Linked DNA regions of Homo sapiens: region 2 is linked to region 1. Evidence: promoter capture Hi-C in 16 types of primary human blood cells and fetal thymus (Javierre and others, 2016). All regions are on one chromosome and are shown on one strand. Each heading gives the region's core, a stretch centred on a gene start or on the middle of the fragment in contact. The rest is flanking DNA. Distances are from core to core; before and after follow the strand shown. Region 1 holds the start of C15orf40 (chromosome 15 open reading frame 40). Region 2 has its middle 3.2 kb from the start of MIR4514.

What was found. The method cuts DNA at HindIII sites, captures the fragments that hold promoters and counts their contacts. A CHiCAGO score of 5 or more calls a contact.
Region 2: a fragment that was not itself captured here is called in contact with the fragment with the promoter of C15orf40 in region 1 in 6 of 17 cell types (activated CD4 T cells, total CD8 T cells, naive CD8 T cells and 3 more); the score reaches 11.5 in activated CD4 T cells.

Annotation. Positions count from the first base shown.
Region 1 is chr15:83,010,194-83,012,893 of GRCh38, reverse strand. It overlaps C15orf40 (chromosome 15 open reading frame 40), which reads left to right and starts at 1,255. Exons shown (of 4, transcript NM_144597.3): 1 at 1,255-1,397; 2 at 2,531-2,657. The coding sequence starts at 1,287. LOC124903542 (a long non-coding RNA gene) reads right to left here and starts at 1,153. Exons shown (of 2, transcript XR_007064742.1): 1 at 1-1,153. RefSeq lists an enhancer at 1,018-1,077. The HindIII fragment of the contact is 2,628 bases long and covers 1-2,390 here.
Region 2 is chr15:80,992,972-80,995,671 of GRCh38, reverse strand. No RefSeq gene overlaps it. Among named protein-coding and RNA genes, the nearest start is that of MIR4514, 3.2 kb to the left of the region's middle. The HindIII fragment of the contact is 7,858 bases long and covers 1-2,700 here.

The sequences.
Region 1 (2,700 bases), core at 6-2,505:
TTCTCTCCACTAAAACTGCTGTAGCCCGGGTCACCACCACCACCCTGATTTCTAAATCTTGTGGCCACTTCTCAGTCGTTACATGTGACATGTTCTCTCCAGAGTGTTCATCACTGTTGATGTTCCCTCTTGAAGCGCCCTTCTTTAGCTGCCGTTACACCGTACTCCTACCTGGTCAGTGTCCTTTGGTGACTTCTCTACCTGCCCTTGCTGTTCTAACCTGGGCCCTCGTGCTCTTTACACACTCTCTCATCCATTTCCATAGCTTCAATTGCCATCTGCTTTCAGAAGATTCCAGAATCTCTATCACCAGCCTTGATTTCGCAAACTCCAGTCACATATATTCAGTTACCCCTTTAACATTTGTATTTGGATGTCCTGTGGGCATCTCAAACTCATTATGTCCAAAGCTGAACTCCTCACCTCGGCCTCCCAAACCTGTTCCTTGGGCCCCAAACCTGGGCATTTCCTTGACTTTTCCCCCTTATTCGCACATGCAGTCATTCCCAAGTTCTGATCATTTCAGTTCCTGAAGATCCTTGAAATGATCAGCGCTCCACCCTCCCTGCGGTTACTCTAGTTCAGGCCACCCTCTCCCATTTAGGGGGCGGATCTCCCTGTCTCTGGCTTTTCCTCTGTCGGCCACAGTGCAGCCGGTGTCTTTCTAAAACCCAGCAAATTGGGCTGCTAATAATCCCTTGCTTGAAAGCCTTCAGTGACTCCATGATCTTGCCTCTGCTGATTTGTTTCATGTCTCTCCATATCACATGTCGCAGTGTATTTCCTCTTCTTTTACATTGTGGGATCCGCTGCGCCTGGCACAAGGTAGGTGCGCCATCGATACGTGGAAGATTCACAAGGGCCAAGCCGCCACGAGGCTCTATATCGACTTGATGGCCACAGGCAGCGCGTGGGACTCTGCATCTGCTGCTTGGCTGTGGGAGCGAGAAGACACCTGGCCCTGTGCACTCCTTGCCGCGCTCTCCAATTCTGAGAAGTGACAATACCTTTCTTTCCCCGATTAGGAAAGAGGTGACACACCTTCCTATCAGCTGAGCAGGGTGGGCCAAGACACGGTGAGGCCTCAGCTCCGCAGCTCCACTTCCTGGGGCTCGGCCCGTTCCAGAACAAAAGAGACTCGCGCATGTTCTGCGGCCACGAGACTCGCTCCCGCCGGCCTTAAGGTGTCGCCCTCTGGCCAGAGCGGATGCGCCGGGCGGTGGGGCCGCTCCTGCCGGCTACCTGCGCAAGCGCAGAGGGCTCTTCCGGCGCCTTCCCAGGCGGGGATGCTGCGGCTCCGCAGCGGGCTGAGGCACCTTCGGGCAACACCCAATACTCGGGGCTCCGCTCGGCTTCTTTGCGCCGAGATGCCTAAGAAGGCTGGTGCGACGACCAAGGCCAGTAGCAGGTCCCGTGGCGGCAGAGGGGTGGGCCTCAGGGGTACTTGTTGAAGAGCGCGGGAGAAGCGGGGCCCGGGAGTGAGTGGAGGCACTGCCAGCGGCTTGCCGTCTCTCAGTTCCGGGGCTCAGGACAGCCGCCGCCACCCCCAGAGCTGCGGCCTGCTGCCGTCGCCCCGCCTCAGTAGGCTGCGCTGCCGTCCACCTGGTGATTTCTGAGCGCTGGGCCCGGCGGCAGCCGAGCTCTCCTTGGGCTGCGTGTGCTGACCTTTGGCCTCCTACCCGCACTCCCAGTCCAGCAATTCATGTTCCCGCAGCGGCATGACCTGCGTTTCCCCAGGAGGCTGTATTCTGCTTTCTCCTCCCTTGCTTTGGCTGATCGCACCCCTTCTGTCAAGAATACAGCACTCCCATTTCCACCATCTTTGTTTGGCCAACCCCAGTCCGTTTCTCAGACTCAGCTCAAGCACTGCCTCCTGCTGGCAGCATTCTCCAGTGCCCCAATGCTGATTTGCCTGTGGGGTAATGTTCTGTGCCTATCTCATCGGTGCACTTAGCACAGTGTATTATAATTTTGTATGTTCTTTCTCCCTCGCAGCAGTCCGAGCTCCTTGAGAGCAAGGACCATGTACCTTTTCATCTTTACATATCCATTGCCTACATATTTGTTGAACGAAAGTTCCTAGCACAGCCCCTGTCCCATAACAGGCCTTTAAATATCAAGCACTATTTTTTTTTCCTCCCTTTCCCGCAACATGCAGACATACACACTTTCACCAACATTTATTAGCTCCGACTGCATGAGATACAATGATGAATAATAAATGATCCCTGCCCCCAAGGAATTGGAAATACAAAGCAGAGGGAGGAGCAAGCATTAAGGTTTAGAAGCCAGAGTTAGGTTTTCTTGCAAGGGGGGAAAAAACACTGTTGGGTTGATGGGAACCCTTCGTGGGAAAATTGAGTAGAGCCTTGAAGGTTGTGGGAAAAGCTTTCTAGGTGGCCAGAAGTCCCTGGACACCACTGATGAGCCTAGTTTGTCTGTTAAGGGTGAAAGGGGGTAGTGGAAGAATCAAATTAAATGTGTGGGAAAATATTTTGTAACCTGTAAAGTTGTGTGGTTGTCATTTTAGGGTAAAAGCCAGAGCAAGGAACCAGAGAGACCACTTCCTCCCTTAGGTCCTGTGGCAGTTGATCCTAAAGGATGCGTCACCATAGCCATCCATGCAAAACCTGGCTCCAAACAAAATGCTGTAACAGGTATACCTGGACACTGGGGTGGGATTCAAGTGTGAATCAGGTG
Region 2 (2,700 bases), core at 44-2,543, 2.0 Mb after region 1:
GAGTGATTAGATGTATTGGTGCCTCACAAGGAGGTTCCCTGATCTTTCAGACAGACCCAGGTATTTCTTCCCCCCCTTGTAGCTACTATGATGCCTGCTCAGCTTCAGAGTGGCGTCAAGTACTTGTAACTGTTGGTGTAACTCTCTCCACAACCCTATCATCTCTGTAAGGGCAGGGACTTGATCTATGCATCTTTCCCCCACATTTAATGTATTCAGTGTTTATGGCATTAATAAGTTAATGAATTATTTTATCTGTTAAGTCTCTGTGCAAGAAAGGTGCCCTTTTATTGAACCAAACTCTGGCTGCTCACAACTTTTATTCAGTAACGGACAGAAAGTCATGGATATTCATGAAACAACAGCAGGGGTACAGTCTAGGTCTGGTCATGACCTAACAGCTCACAACTCTTAAGATTGAAGGGGAGGCCTGAGGCCTGTTTGCTTAGCAAGTGTGTTCACCTCATTTTTCTTACAGCTTGTTTGAGATAGTCCAGGGAGGTGATTCTTTGGAAACAGACTGAATTTTCTGAACATAACTGCATATATCTGTGCTGCAAAGTACATGTAATTTTTTCAGATGACACAGATAAAAGTCCTGCCTTCTTCAGAGATTCAGATCTCATCCCCAAATTTTCAAGGCCATTGCACTATTGTAGATAATTTGAATTACATGTATTATTCTGATAATTTCCATTGAAATTAGACTTTTCACCCTTACATATTGGTGGAAAGAAGGGTATCAATTCACATTTTGTAAGCAGCAGTGTGTTTATGTGTGTCTCTCCTTTTAAAGCACAAGTGGGCCAGGCGCGGCAGTTCCCGCCTATAATTCCAGCACTCTGGCAGGGCGAGGTGGATGGATCACTTGTGCCCAAAAGTTCTAGACCAGCTTGGGCAACATGGTGAAAACCCATCCTTTAAAAAAAAAAAAATGCACTTTGGGAGGCCAAGGCGGGTGGATCACGAGGTTAGGAGTTCAAGACCAGCCTGGCCAACATGGTGAAACCCCTGTCTCTACTAAAAATACAAAAATTAGCCGGACATGGTGGCATGTGCCTGTAATCCCAGCTACTCAGGAGGCTGAGGCAGGACAATTGCTTGAACTGGGGCCCGGGAGGCAGAGGTTGCAGTGAGCTGAGATCGCACCACTGCACTCCAGCCTGGGCTACACAGTGCAACTCTGTCTCAAAAAAGAAAAAAAAATGCAAAAATTAGCCAGGTGTGGTATGGGAGGCTGAGGCGGGAGGATCCCTTGAGCCTGAGAGGTGGAGGTTGCAGAGAGCCAATATCTGGCCGCTGCACTCCAGTCTGGGTGACAGAGCAAGACCCTGTCTCAAAAAAACAAACAAACAAAAACAACACACCACCACTGACGTATGTTAGATGTGAAGAAAAATAGAAAATACAGAGAAAAGGTTAAAATATTTTGGAATCTCACTGCTTAGAGACAGCCATCGTATACATATTTGCAGCTCTTTTCCTATACATAGATATATATCTGTATAATTTTAATAGCATTTAAAATCATATAGTATAAAATGAATATCTTTAGTAGCAACAAATATATATATTTGATTGCATATTATCCATCATATGTGTGGAATACAGCTTGCAACTGTAAATGTAGATTTTATAGTCTACAATTTTTGAAACACTTAGAGTTGTTCTCATTTTCCCCACTCATGGAGAGTGTTATAGGATTGTTACATTGGGTAAGTGAAGAAATACACGGAAAGCACTCAGCAGAATGCCTGTCGAATAGTAAGTGCTCAATATTAACATTACTATTATTTTCATTGTCTGTTTCCTCAGAGTCAAGTTCTTGGAAGTAGACTTGCTAATCATATTATGCACTTTTTTGTGGGGAGGGGGAGTTGATACATTTCACCTAATTTTCAAGCAGAAAACTCCATCCCCCGAGAAGTGAGTGAGAAGACTTCTTTCCTTAGCCTTGTCAACAGTGTATACTGTCTGTATTTTTATCCAGGATCAACTGATAATTTAAAAATTATAACATGTTTGAATTTGCATTTTTTGATATTAGAGAGATTCTGTGTTTTGTTTTGTTTTTGCCACATGTGAACTGGCCATTTATATTTATTCTTTTGGGAATTACCTATTCATGTCCTAGACCGTTTTTCATTTGGTTGTTCATCTTTTTCTTATTGATTTATAAGTTGTTTTTTTTTTTTGGAGACAGAGTGTTACTCTGTCACCCAGGCTAGAGTGCAGTGGCACAACCTCGGCTCACTGCCACCTCTGCCTCCCGGGTTCAAGCAATTCTCCTGCCTCAGCCTCCCGAGTAGCTGGGATTACAGGTGCATGCCACCACACCCAGCTAATTTTTGTATTTTTAGTAGAGACGGGGTTTCACCATCTTGGCCAGGCTGGTCTCAAACTCCTGACCTCAGGCGATCTGCCCGCCTCAGCCTCCCAAAGTGCTGGGATTATAGGCATGAGCCACCATGCCCAGCCAGGAAAACACAATTTTAATTATTATGTTTAACTCTGTGAGTATGCTCTTCTGCCCAAAAATAATGGTGGTGACCAGGAATGGACACCTGCCTCAGACTGGGCCAGTCACATTCTCTACTGAAAATCTGAAATTCCAACAAAAGGCAACGAGTTAGTTGCTACCAATATTTAGCAACTACAATGAATGATTCGTGTCTATGTAATTAAATTTTTTAAGTGAGT